5 separate regions of the Homo sapiens genome follow, and regions 2, 3, 4 and 5 are each linked to region 1. Evidence: promoter capture Hi-C in human tissues and cell types (Jung and others, 2019). All regions are on one chromosome and are shown on one strand. Each heading gives the region's core, a stretch centred on a gene start or on the middle of the fragment in contact. The rest is flanking DNA. Distances are from core to core; before and after follow the strand shown.

Region 1 (2,648 bases), core at 83-2,582:
CACTCCTGGCATTAATGGAATCACCTCTTAAAGGTCCCACCTCTCAACACTGTTGCATTGGGGATTAAGTTTCCAAGATATGAACTTTGGGGAACATATTTAAACCATAGCATCCCCTAAATCCAGCCTAATCCATCATCAAGCCTTCCTGTGCTACTTTTGACACACATTGCAGGAGGTCCACCTTTTCCGTATCTTGCTGTCACCACCCTGGTCTTCATCACCATAATCTCTTGCCTGAATTGTTCCCTCCAGATTGATATGACAAAGCCCTGACCCTCACGGTGGCCTACAAGGTTCTGGGTGATGGTGATTCCACACTAGTCTACCTCTCTGGCTGTAACCCACTCTCCCCTTGCTCACCTCACTCAGCCACCCTGGGGGCCAGTTCCAGCTTCAGAACCATGCATCGGCCGACCCCTCTGTCAGCAATGCTCTTGCTTCAGCCCTGGAATCGTTTTTGTCCTCCAAGTATCCAATATCACAAGCGGCCCGGAGACCACCCTAGGTATAGCAGTCCTAGACCCCTTTCTTTTTCTTTTCTTTTTTTTGGAGACGGCATCTAGCTCTGTTGCCCAGGCTGGAGTGCAGTGGCTCTAACTCGGCTTACTGTAACTTCCACCTCCCGGGTCCAAGCAATTCTGCCTCAGCCTCCCGAGTAGCTAGGACTACAGGTGAGGGCCACCATGCCCAGCTAATTTTTGTATTTTTAGTAGAGACGGGGTTTTATCATCTTGGCCAGGCTGGTCTTGAACTCCCGACCTCGTGATTCACCTGCCTCGGCCTCCCAAAGTGCTGGGATTACAGGCGTGAGCCACAGGCACCCAGCCGACATTCTCTTGTTTTTTTCGTTTGTTGTATATAACCTACCCCCACCTCCACCCCATGCAAAGTCCACGAGGACGATAGACTTTGTCTTGTTCCCTGTTGCATCCTGGCCCTAGGGCCTAGCCCACAACCTGGGACATTTCCTGACAAGGGGCCCTGGTTTCTCTGAGGTGCCACCTGAGGTCCGGGAGGTCAGCTGACTTTCCCAAAGGTGGATTCCAAGGACACTGCATTCTTCGCACTCCCCGAGGGGCGTCTAGACACTCCTGGGACCCAGAATTATTAGCTAACTGGGCTCCTGAGTCCGGTGAGAGCTCAGAGTCTAGAAGCAACTTTCCCTGCCTGGAGAGGTGAACCCAGCAAGGCGTTGGGGAGAGGCGTGGGCGAGGGAGTGGGCGCGGGTGGGCGGGGCCGTCCGGGGGCCTCGTTGCCCGAGCCAATGGGGCGCCGCGGCGCGGGGAGGCCGGGCCGCCGGGCGGGGGCGCTCGCGCGCGTTGAGGGGCAGAGGCTGAGCTCCCGGGACCCGGAGCGGATCGACTGGCGGGCGCCGCGCCGAGGCACCACCGGGCGCCGAGTTCCTGGCGGCTCGCACGGTAAGCGGCGCGGCGCCGCAAAGTAGACTTTGTGGGGTTTCTGACAGCCGGGAGACCCCACCTCGAGCGGGGGCTGCTGGTGCGTTCTCGCGTCGGGCTGCGTCCCCTGGAGCTCCGGCTCTGTGTCCGCGGGATGCGGGCGCACGGAGGGGCAGGGAGGGAGGCAAGGAGCCGCGCACCACGGTGTCTCCCCAGGCTGCCGCTGCCGGGGCCCTGGGCCGGTCCCTGGGACAGACAGATCGGCGTGCGGGGGCCGTCTGCCGGGCCCGGGAGCCGGGGGCGCGCAAGACTGTGGATCCTAAGACTGCCTCCACCCAGCGCCCGGCCCGGGGAAGAGCTTGCGGGAAACCAGGAACCGCAGCGGCCGGACCTCTGCTCTGCGCCGGCTCCTAGGACCTGCCTTAGGTCCCCAGACCCCTCATGACCTGTTGCCTTGGGTTTGGGAGGTCAGGTTTGTCATGCCATTTCCGATTTCCAGTCATCCTGGGGGCAGGATGAAATTTCAGAGTGGTTTCCTGGCCAAGCTAGAAGCAGAGAATAGCTATGGATACAGCACCTCGTGTATCTATCCAGCACTTACTTGGCTTTTTCTGAGTGCCAGGAACTGTGCCAAGCCCTAGCAGCATGAAGAATGGCCTTTGGGGAGCTTCTGGGGCTAAGAGGGACAGTAGGAGGAGCAATTGCAGTGCAGGGTAGTGCGGAAGACTCGAGATGGAGAAGAGGACGGTGAGGAAGCCAGGAAGGTTTCAGAGAGGAGGTGAGCATTGACTGGAAGTCGGAGGTTTTGCCAGGCTGAAAAGTGTGTTGGGACTGTGAGTTGATAGGGAGCAGGAATTCCAGGTGGGTTTTCTTGTGTAAAGGTAAAGAAACTGAAAAGGTCCGGTGTCCTGACCTAGCACATCAGATAATTCTACAGCAGATAATGGAGTAGGACCGGGTCTTGCTGTAGGTAGGAAATGAGCTCTCGACATGGCAGGAAGCTAAAACCTGCACAGACCTTAAAGTGCAGCCTTAGAATATTTAGAATTTTATCCTGGAATGAAGGAGGGCCGTGGAAGAATTCTGATCAGTGATCAGGTCCCTCTGGCAGCTCTGGGGACAATGGATGGAGGCCGGAGCATCAGAAAGCTGGTAAGTTGTAGTTGTTTTCTGGTCCTTGGCTGCAAATACTCTTCCCTGCTTAAGGGAGCCCCCTCTGCCCGGGAGCCCTGCTCCCTGGCTTCTGGA
Region 2 (2,648 bases), core at 53-2,552, 1.9 Mb before region 1:
GCTGAATTCCAAAGCCTGAGCCTTTTCCAGGGTACCAAGCTGATATCTGCAGCTCAGAGGCAACTTTTTCATGGGAGGGAACGTGGGACTGGGGCTAGGGAGGGCTGGGTTAGTATCCCCGCTCTGTGACTTTGAAAGGTTCACTGAACCCCTCTGTGCCTCAGTTTTCCCGTTAGTATAATGAGGTCATACTCATTCCTAACCCATAAGCTTAAATTAAATGAGGGTTATATGTGGTGCTCCTGAAACTGTGCATGGCTGGTTAGGCACAAATGGAAAACGTCTTTCTCCATGGAGGAAAGTCACTGAGCACCTTTTCAGGGAACCTGCTCGCTGGGCAGATGGAGGAGCTGGTGATCAACACAGCCTTTTGAAGGGGTCGTCTTTTCCAACAGAACATGACACAGCCACAGGGAAAGTTGTTTTAGTTCCACTTAGTTTGATTTATTATTGATAATTCTGGAGATAAATTAGAATCATTAAAATAAGAGGCTGCAGTCTGCAGGCTGTTTTGAATTCCAGGGCTGTCTGCTTCGCATTTCCTGGGAACTGAGTGAGTACATTTGCATGTTTAGAGGGGGAGGGCCCTCAGAGAGCAGGAGGCAGAAAGTCCTGTCTGGAAAGTCTGGGCAATGAGAGAGGAAGCGCAGCTTGGAACTGTGTATTAGCCGCTGGGCCTGCCATAACAAGACACTATAGACTGGGTGGCTTAAATAACAGAAATTAATTTTCTCTTAATTCTTGGAGGCAAGAAGGTCTAAGATTAAGGTGCCAGCTGATTTGTTTCCTGGCGAGGGCCCTCTTCCTAGTTTGTAGATGGCCGCTTTGGCCTCACATGGCTCTTCCTCAGAGCATGCAGAGAGAGGAGGATGAGTGAGCTCTCTGGTGTCTCTTCTTTTTATTTTTTGAGTCGAAGTCTCACTGTGTCGCCCAGGCTGGAGTGCAATGGTGTGATCTCGGCTCACTGCAACCTCCACCTCCCAGTTCCAGTCACTATCCTGCCTCAGCCTCCCGAGTAGCTGGGATTACAGGCAAATGCCATCATGCCCGGCTAATTTTTGTAGTTTTGTAGAGATGGGTTTTCACTATGTTGGTCAGGCTGGTCTTGAACTCCTGACCTTAGGTGATCCACCTGTCTTGGCCTCCCAAAGTGCTGGGATTACAGGCATGAGCCACTGTGCCTGGCCCAGGTGTCTCTTCTTATAAGGACACCAGTCCTATTGGATCCAAACCCCACTCTTATCACCTCATTCAACCTTAATTACCCCCTAAAAGCCCCATCTCCAAATACAGCCTCATTGGGGGTTAGGGCTGCAACATATGGATTTGGGGGAGGGGAGGACACAGTTCAGTCCATAGTGCACTGCTTTCCACTCCTCCAGGAGGCCTGCCATGATTGTTAGTACTGTAACAAGAACAGTTGCCAGCACCTTACTTTCTGTGTCCCTACAGAAGCATAATGAGGTTAGGAACCTCATTACTATTCCTTTCGAAGATGAGAAAACTGAGGCACACAAAAGGAAAGTCACTGACCTAAGGTCCTCACCTGGTGAGGGGCGGAGCCAGGTCAGGGACCTTGTGCCTGGGACACCTTGTAGTGCTCATTGTACCTCGTCAGTCTTTCTCCCAGGGTGGCAGAGTGGGAAAAGTACTGCTAGAAATAAAATTTAGATTCAGAGGGTACATGTGCAGATTTGCTACATGGATATATTGTGTGATGCTGAGGTTTGGGCTTGAATTGAACCCATCACCCAAATAGTGAGCATAGTAACCAGTAGGTAGTTTTTCAACCCTTGCCCGCTTCAGCCCTCCTCCATTTGGAGTCTGTAGTGTCTATTGTTCTTGTCTTTATATCCATGTGTACACAATATTTAGCTCCCACTTCTAAGTGAGAACATGTGGCATTTGGTTTTCTGTGTCTGCATTCATTCAATTAGGATAATGGCCTCAATCTGCATCCATGTTGCTGCAAAGGACATGAGCTCATTCTTTTTTATGGCTGTACAGTATTCCATGGTGTATATGTACCACATTTTCTTTATCTAGTCCACCATTGATGAGCACCTAGGTTGATTCCATGTCTTTGCTATTGTGAATAGAGCACCAATTTTTGAATCAACCTTGGACTAAATACTACCTCTATCACTTAGAAGTTGTGAGACCATCAGCAAATTATTTGCTGTCTATCAGAGCAGTTGCATCACTTGGAAGGGGATAACAGGACTGCACTCACATGGTGTTCTTGAGGTCAAATAAAATGAGGTATGACATGTGCTTAGTATGAGGCCTGGAACATGGGTGCTATTCAGTCAGTGCAATCATTTCCACTTTGGGTGCTGTGCATGTAAGATCTACAGGAGTTCAGGAGGCCTTTGAACTTGCCCATTGAACTTGCAGAGGTGTGGTCTCATCTCTTACCCAAGTATTCAGGACCTTCCCCCAACTCCAACCCTCTCCCCCGATCTTACAAAGTGATCCCAGGAGAAGATGTGACAAAAATCATTTATGTTAAAGTGTAAATGACGAAGAAGGATTTTTGAGGTCATCTTTGATGATTTTAGAAAGAAATTATGAATTATTTTTTTTTTGAGATGCAGTTTCACTGTTGTCACCCAGGCTGGAGTGTGGTGTCACGATATCGGCTCACT
Region 3 (2,648 bases), core at 104-2,603, 1.9 Mb before region 1:
TTCAAGCAATTCTGCCTCAGCCTCCTGAGTAGCTGGGATTACAGGCATGTAACACCACACCCCGCTAATTTTTGTATTTTTAATAGAGACAGGGTTTCACCAAGTTGGCCAGGCTGGTCTTGAACTCCTGACCTTGTGATGCCCCCTCCTCGGCCTCCCAAAGTGCTAGGATTACAGGCTTAAGCCATTGTGCTGAGCCCAAAGTCTCTTTTCACAAGCGTTCCCTCCACAAGGTGCATATTTTGATATATTTTGCCCACTGTATATGATAGCATGTAAAGATAGCATGTTATTATTAGCTTCATCTTCTAGATAAGGAAATTGAGGCAAAGGGAAATCCATTCATTTGGCCCAGGCTTCACAAGTGGGAGGTGGTGGACCCCATGGCCACCGTGTATGTCTGTGCATGTTTTTCACAGCTCAATGATGCCTGGCCCAGGAGTCTGAAATCCGGCCACCAATCTGGTTAACAAGTCATGGATGCTAGTATGAGGCTGAGTTTGTTGGGAGGAACAAATCCTTTATCAAATTCATTAAAAGATATGACCTTTTCACCAAGCTGTGGGCCCACTGGACTTTTATCTGTCTAGAGGAGTTGCCTTATTTGATTTGCACCAAAACTTGGTATAGGACAGTGGCTCCTGAAGAACCAGTATTCAAACCCTGCAGCCTGATTTCAGAATCTGTTCTCTGACCTCACAAAGCAGGGGAAAACAGTATCTGTTCCTTGTCAAAGGCTCCTTTTACTAGTGTTTCCTCCACAAAGTACACATTTTGGTATATTTTGCCCATTGTTTATGATAGCATGTAAAGAACCATTATTTCTGTGGCCTCAACAAACGGGGGTTTGCCTTTTTCATGCAATAAGGAGTCCAGAGTTGGTGGTTTAGAGTACGTACAAAGTCTTTAAGAACCCATATTCTGGGCCGGGTGCGGTGGCTCATGCCTGTAATCCCAGTACTTCAGGAGGCCGAGGCGGGTGGATCACCTGAGGTCAGGAGTTCAAGACCAGCCTGGCCAACATGGTAAAACCCCATCTCTACTAAAAATACAAAAGATTAGCTGGGCGTGATGGCAGGCGCCTGTAATCCCAGCTACTTGGGAGACTGAGGCAGGGGAATCGCTCAAATCCGGGAGGTGGAAGTTGCAGTGAGCCGAGATCGCACCACTGCACTTCAGCCTGGGCAACAAGAGCGAAACTCCATCTCAAAAGAAAAGAAAACAAAACAAAACAAAACAAAAAAACCCATGTTCCATCCACCACCCTGACTTTGTTAGGATGTGGCTTTCAACCTCAAGATGTCTGCTGCACAGTCAAACTTCACATGTGAATTTCAGGCAGAAAACATTGGGAAAAAAGCCAAGAAAAAAAAAGGAGTGATCCAGTTAAGTTGGTCTTTTTATATGAGGAAAATTATAGCTCTCTCAGAAGCTCTACTCTTAAATCTTATTGTCTAGAACTGGGTCCCATGGCCACTCCTAGTTGCAGAGGAGTTTGGGAAGTATTTTTAACTAGGCATGTGACTACAGGCTAGACAAAGCTGGGATTCTCTTAGCAAGAAAAAAAGGAGACTAGATCTCATGGACTGGTCACATCCAACAAGTAAACTGCATGTATAAAGTAATATTTAACTTGTTCTTCCGCTTTTATGAGTCAAAAACACAACTTCTTAGAGGAGCATTTTTGTTGACAAGTAATATCTAGATCTATTGCCCGCTACCTTTAGGAGACTGTGCAGTATACACAGGGTCAGGAAGCTGAGCTGCTCTTCCACAGTCGTCTTCACACTCACAAGTTCCAGCTTCTGCTTGGGTCCAGTGCTGCCTTCCCTCCCATGTCCTTGACACCTGGTTGGTCCCCAGTCACCATATCTCCTTCCTACCTCTTTGGCTTTGCCATACTTGGGCTTTATAGCTCCTGACTCCTCCACACTTTCTACCACAAAGATACTAGGGGCCGGGATTGCAGCCAGAGGTCCTGCCCACTGCCCGCTAGCTGCTGTGCCTGCTGCACAGCCAGCTCTCCAGGTCCAGATGCAGGGCCTAGGGCCCTGGCTTGTTCCCAGCCCACCTATTTGATCATTGGCCATGGAAGATATGACAGCACAGCCTGTTATAGTTCCAGCCGAAAGTAGTCCCCTGGGTGTTTTAGCTAACCTGGGCAGTCTCGTTGAGAGTAAATATAGAGTTTTCATTAGGCCTTTGGAAATACTGGAAAATGGCTCATAGTTCTATATAATCCTTTTTAGCCCAGTGCTGTCTAATAGAACTTTCCATGATGGGGAAAATGCTCTCTCTATCTGTGCTATCCAATACAGTGGCTACTGGCCACATGAGATTACTGAGAGCTTTAAACGTGGCTAGTGCAATTGAGGAGCTCAGTTTCTAATTTTATTTTATTTTCATTAATTTAAATTTATAATTAAATAGCCACATGAGGCTAGCAACTACCATACCGGATAGCACATCTCTAGAGGTTTTCTCTACGGACTCAAGGTCCTAAGAAGTGTAGGAAATGTGTAGGAAGCCAGCTACCTACACTGAGGTAGCTGGCTGAATCAAAAGACAAAACAAGGATGAAAACTGCACATACGAAATAATGAGATGGTAAATAGGCCAAAGGGCATCCATTGACTCTAAGGCCATAA
Region 4 (2,648 bases), core at 55-2,554, 1.5 Mb before region 1:
GTCTTACTTCTCCTTCTCATAAGTGGTGAGATTACTGGGCCCAGGTGTCCCCCACCAGAATCTTTAAAATATTCTCCCCATGATACTTGAAATTGTCTTTTTGGAATTTAATTATTTTAGGCAAGCATTTGAATTCTTCTAGAATATAAATTCCTACTGATCCTCAGGCATTTAATTTTTCATCACTCAGGCGGTCTTTATTGTAAATGATGGTGTATTAGGGTTCTCCAGAGGGACAGAACTAATAGGTTATATATGTAGAGGAGTTTACTAAGGAGTATTAAACTCACACAATCACAAGGTTCCAAAATAGGCCATCTGCAACCTGAAGAGTAAGGAAGCCAGTCTAAGTCCCAAAGCTGAAGAACTTAAAGTCCGACGTTCAAGGGCAGGAAGCATCCAGCATGGGAGAAAGATGTAGGCTGGGAGGCTAAGCCAGTCTAGTATTTTCATGTTCTTCTGCCTGCTTTTATCCTAGCCATGCTGGCAGCTAATTAGATTGTGCCCACCCAGATTAACAGTGGGTCTGCCTTTCCCAGCCCACTGACTCATATGTTAATCTCCTTTGGCAACACCCTCACAGACACAGCCAGGATCAATACTTTGCATCCTTCAATCCAATCAAGTTGACACTCAGTATTAACCAACACAAGTTCACCCCTTGTCAATTTGAACCCATATACATCTCCTGAGATCATACATAATCTTCAAATAAAGACAATAATAAGGTCATAATTACACCTAACATAATACAACTACCCTTTGTACAACCAGAAATGCATCAATTCCCAACCCAAATGGTATTAAAGTTAACAACACTTAAATGCTGACATAAAGTCAATAAATCTTATGTCACATGACAAAGGAAAAAGGAAATAAAATGAAGGAATTTTCTTAGTACAAGTGTATACATACACAAACATGTTTTTAACAAAAGAAGAAGGAAATGCTCTTGACAATTACAGTCCTCGTTTCTGCAAGTGGTCACATAGTCATAGCTGGTATTGATGACTACCTTCTTCTACTACCCATTTTGTATTCCCTTTGCCTTCAGCAAGCACCTCAGCAGGTCATGGTTTTTTTCCCGGTGGAGTGACCCAAACCTTCATTCCTGAAGGGTCTGGGCCATTTGTAGTCCTTCCTGGATTGGGCTCCTGTAGTTTCCCATTGACCTTAATTACAGGGCATGGTAAGATTAAGAGATGCCCCAAGAGATTTCCTGTATTGCACACATACTGTTCCTTATTTCCACTGTGGAGCAGTAGACTGATTTCATCTTGATAGTCTGGGTCAATCACCCCAGCCAACACTGTAACTCCCTTCTTAGCCTGTTGACTTAAGGGTAGGAGAAGCCCGAAGTGTCCGGGTGGCAATCTTAACTTCCACTCTAATGGAATAGTTGTATGTTTCCTTGTGGCAGTGTTCCTCCTCTGGAACTAAGACCTCTAGGCCAGCAGAACATTATGTCACAGGAACAGGGAGCAAAAATTTTGCTAGTGGATCACTAGGGGTGATGGGGTACATGGTAAGACGAGTGAATTCCATAAGCATGAATTCATGAGCCCACTGACACACATCTTTAGCCATAAAGTGAGTGCCTTGGTCAAAGGCAATGCTGTGTGGAATACCATGATGGTACATAAGGCATTCCATAAGTCCATGGATGGTAGTCTTGGCAGAAGCATTGCATGCAGGACAGGCAAACACATATCTGGACTATTCCAGTGAGGACAAACCTCTGCCCTTTCCATGATGGAAGAGGTCCAATATAATCAACCTGCCACCAAGTAGCTAGCTTATCACCCAGAGGAATGGTGTCATATTGGGGGCTCAGTGTTGGTCTTTGCTGCTGGCAAATTGGGCATTCAGCAGTGGCACTAGCCAGGTCAGCCTTGGTGAGTGGAAGTCGATGTTGCTCAACCCACGCATAACCACCATCCCTGCCACCATGGCCACTTTGTTCATGGGCCCACTGGGCAATGATGGAGGTGGCTGGGGAAAGAGGCTGAGTGGTGTCCACAGAATAAGTCATCCTATCCACTTGATTTTGTGTTGTTGTTGTTGACGACGTTGTTGTTGGTTGTTATTGTTGAGACTGAGTCTCGCTCTGTTGCCCAGGCTGGAGTGCAGTGGTGTGATCTTGGCTCAATGCAACCTCTGCCTCCTGGGTTCAAGTGATTCTCCTGCCTCAGCCTCCTGAGTAGCCGGGATTACAGGCACCTGACACCATGCCCGGCTCATTTTTTGTATTTTTAGTAAAGACAGGGTTTCACCATGTTGGCCAGGCTGGTCTCAAACTCCTGACCTGGTGATCCACCTGCCTTGGACTCCCAAAGTGCTGGGATTACAGGCGTGAGCCACTGTGCACTGCCTATCCACTTGATTTTTTAAATTCTCCTCTGCTGAGGTCACCTTTTGGTGAGTACTCACATGGGATACAAATATCTTCACAGTTTTTGACCACTCAGAGAGGTCTGTCCACATACCTCTTCCCCAAATTTCTTTGTCACCAATTTTCCAATCATGGTTCCTCCAAGTCCCTGATTGTCCAGCCAAACCATTGGCTACAAGTTCCACGAATCAGTATATAATTATATATCTGGCCATGTCTCCTTCCATGCACAGCACACAACCAGGTGCACTGCTCA
Region 5 (2,648 bases), core at 99-2,598, 1.4 Mb before region 1:
TAATGCTTTGAAGAGAACCATGTTCTTATTATTATGTAAAAGATTTCATCTGTAATTTCTATGCATTTGGAACATGGAACAATGGTTTAGAACATGCTCATGTCTCCAAATGGACCTGGGGGAGTCTTTGTGTGATTCAATTAACCAGGCCTGTATGGTTCTTACCACGCTCCTCCATTGATAGATAGATAGATAGATAGATAGATAGATAGACAGATACAAACAAAGACAGATAATCAGAAAGTAACTATGCAAATCTTACTATGTTTGGTCTTTATAACATCCCTGTGTGGTTGATGGCATTATTATTCTCATTTTGCAGAAGAGGCTCCAATTTGACATATTCAGAATGCCCATGTGAAATTGGAACCTTATTTCATCCTGACTGCCGGTACCATTAAATGTGACATATGTATATATTATGTCGTTATGAGGAAGAGACCACACATGTCTGCAAATGCACACATGTGCACGCACATAAACACTCACACACACACTACATTTTTGGTCCATGCTACTAATCAAATGCCAAAAGGATCTTTGCTTAGGGCTTTGTCAACACTATCATTTACTTTTCATCTATTTAAATCACAGGAGAATTGTTCACTTGCCTTTCCCACTTGGATTGATGGGAGAAGTGAAGGCCTTTTCCGTGATCTCAGCCTATTAGCTGGCTACAGAAAGGGTTCCCTTTGCCCTTTCCCACTCCTTTTTCTAGGAGCCAAGGGATGTGTAGACGGGGGAGCCCTGGATCAGACAGTAATGGGCTGTAATGGAGTTCTCAGTTTGTTTTAACTGCCTGGGTCTGATTGCCTGTGAAAATGGTTTGGTTTTATGCTCTTTGTGAGCCTGCGTCAAGCCCCATTTGAAATAACAAGTGCCTTCCTTTCTCTTGCATCCGCTCAAAGTAGGAATGAGTGGAGGAAGGAGGAAGAGGGAGCGGAAGCGTCTCAGAGACTATGAGTGATCATGTACAGAGGTGAGTGTGCAGATGAGAGAAGCAGTGCTGAAAAAATGCCCTCAGGCTACCTGCAGGTTTGGCAGATGACAGGTGGAGTACACATCTGGTATCTTCCAAACTTCTCCTCCAACCAGCAGGTCTCCTGTGAAGCCTGGTCAGGAAGGCATTGGATGATATCTGACCCATTTCTGTGGACAAGGAAAATGCCCTCATGAGGGAAAAGTAGGAGAGGTCAGAGATTAGACTCACTACCCAGGGACACTATAGAGCCCAATGCAAAGCTTCATACCACCTCATCCTGGCTGCTTCTTACAGAGGCAGCTCTCAGAGCTATGATCTCAGTTCAGCAGACACCAGCCACATGTAGCTAATGAGCACCTGAAATGTAGCTGAATTGAAACATAAACCTGATTTTGAGGGCTTAATGTGATAAAAGAATACAAGATATTTCATTAATATTTTATATTGATTCCATGTTGAAGTGATATTTTGAATATATCTGGTTAAATAACATTATTATTAAAATTAACTTCACCTGTTTGTATTTGTATTAGTCCATTTTCATACCGCTATGAAGACCTGCCTGAGACTGGGTAATTCATAAAGAAAAGAGGTTTAATTGACTCACAGTTCAATATGACTGATGAGGCCTCAGGAAACTTACAATCATGGTGGAAGGTGAAGGGGAAGCAAGGCATCTTTTTCACAGGGTGACAGGAAGAAGTGCCGAGCAAAGGGGGAAAAGCCCCTTATAAAACCATCAGATCTCATGAGAACTCACTCACTCTCACAAGAACAACATGGGGGTAACCGCCCCCATGTTTCAATTACTTGCCACTGGGTCCCTCCCTTGACACGTGGGGATGATGGGAACTACAATTCAAGATGAGATTTGGGTGGGGACACAGCCAAACCATATCAGTATTTTATTGTGACTACTAGAAAATTTACATGTATAGCTCACATTATATTTCTATCGGACACTGCTGGTATAAAGACTCCCAAATCCAGCATCCTCTCTTGGGGGCAGCATAGATAAAACAGGCTGGGCATTCTGTGAAATTTTACAGACTACAGCCTCTCACCTGTCTCTCACCCACTTTGAGAAAGCATGTTAGACTGAAAAGGAGTGAAAGCTATATTATCATAGACATTACATTAAAACTAATCTAATGTTTCAGAAAAGTGAATTTTTCAACACTGTTTATTATTTTTGTTGTTTAATTAAGAACAAATTCTTTATGAAATACAGGCCTCAGTGAGGCCCCTCCATAGCTGTTGAGATCTAAGTTAATTTTGCCTTGATGACTTCTAATCCCATCACCCATGGGAGTCCCCAGTTCCTGCCAGTATTGAAGGTGGTATAGGCAGGTTAAGAGTTACGTTCTTCTTGTCTGTTGTGCCCCTTGGCCCCTGATTTTCTTATCTATCCACCCATCAACAGCAAGTAGAACAGTCACCATTCTTGAGGTTCTACCACAAAGAATCTATACACCAAGCATTTATGACTTTAGAAGACTTTGGTGAAGATTAGAGCAAAGGGGGCTTCCTGGAGAAAAGCTACATCAAGTTGTACAGACTTCTGTCATTTGACTGGTGTATCCGTCAGTATTTGCTAGGCCTGCCTCACCAGGGTGTTGGGAGGCATGAGTTTAGAAATATATGAGCTATAAAACCCCCTACAAAT

Evidence for each region. Contacts are between HindIII fragments. The study calls those that stand out against the background at their distance.
Region 2: a fragment that was not itself captured here is called in contact with the fragment with the promoter of SYN3 in region 1 in 1 of the 25 tissues and cell types used here (lymphoblastoid cells).
Region 3: a fragment that was not itself captured here is called in contact with the fragment with the promoter of SYN3 in region 1 in 1 of the 25 tissues and cell types used here (lymphoblastoid cells).
Region 4: a contact is called between a fragment that was not itself captured here and the fragment with the promoter of SYN3 in region 1, in 1 of the 25 tissues and cell types used here (lymphoblastoid cells).
Region 5: a fragment that was not itself captured here is called in contact with the fragment with the promoter of SYN3 in region 1 in 1 of the 25 tissues and cell types used here (lymphoblastoid cells).

Annotation. Positions count from the first base shown.
Region 1 is chr22:33,057,065-33,059,712 of GRCh38, reverse strand. It overlaps SYN3 (synapsin III), which reads left to right and starts at 1,332. Exons shown (of 14, transcript NM_003490.4): 1 at 1,332-1,421. The HindIII fragment of the contact is 13,516 bases long and covers 1-2,648 here.
Region 2 is chr22:34,948,599-34,951,246 of GRCh38, reverse strand. All of the region lies in intron 1 of LINC02885 (long intergenic non-protein coding RNA 2885), which reads left to right. All of the region lies in intron 1 of LOC105373015 (a long non-coding RNA gene), which reads left to right. Among named protein-coding and RNA genes, the nearest start is that of LINC02885, 48 kb to the left of the region's middle. RefSeq lists enhancers at 402-901, 902-1,403. The HindIII fragment of the contact is 4,068 bases long and covers 1-2,648 here.
Region 3 is chr22:34,927,929-34,930,576 of GRCh38, reverse strand. All of the region lies in intron 1 of LINC02885 (long intergenic non-protein coding RNA 2885), which reads left to right. Among named protein-coding and RNA genes, the nearest start is that of LINC02885, 69 kb to the left of the region's middle. The HindIII fragment of the contact is 6,649 bases long and covers 1-2,648 here.
Region 4 is chr22:34,519,438-34,522,085 of GRCh38, reverse strand. No RefSeq gene overlaps it. Among named protein-coding and RNA genes, the nearest start is that of LL22NC03-13G6.2, 310 kb to the right of the region's middle. The HindIII fragment of the contact is 4,840 bases long and covers 1-2,648 here.
Region 5 is chr22:34,477,365-34,480,012 of GRCh38, reverse strand. No RefSeq gene overlaps it. Among named protein-coding and RNA genes, the nearest start is that of LL22NC03-13G6.2, 270 kb to the right of the region's middle. The HindIII fragment of the contact is 5,381 bases long and covers 1-2,648 here.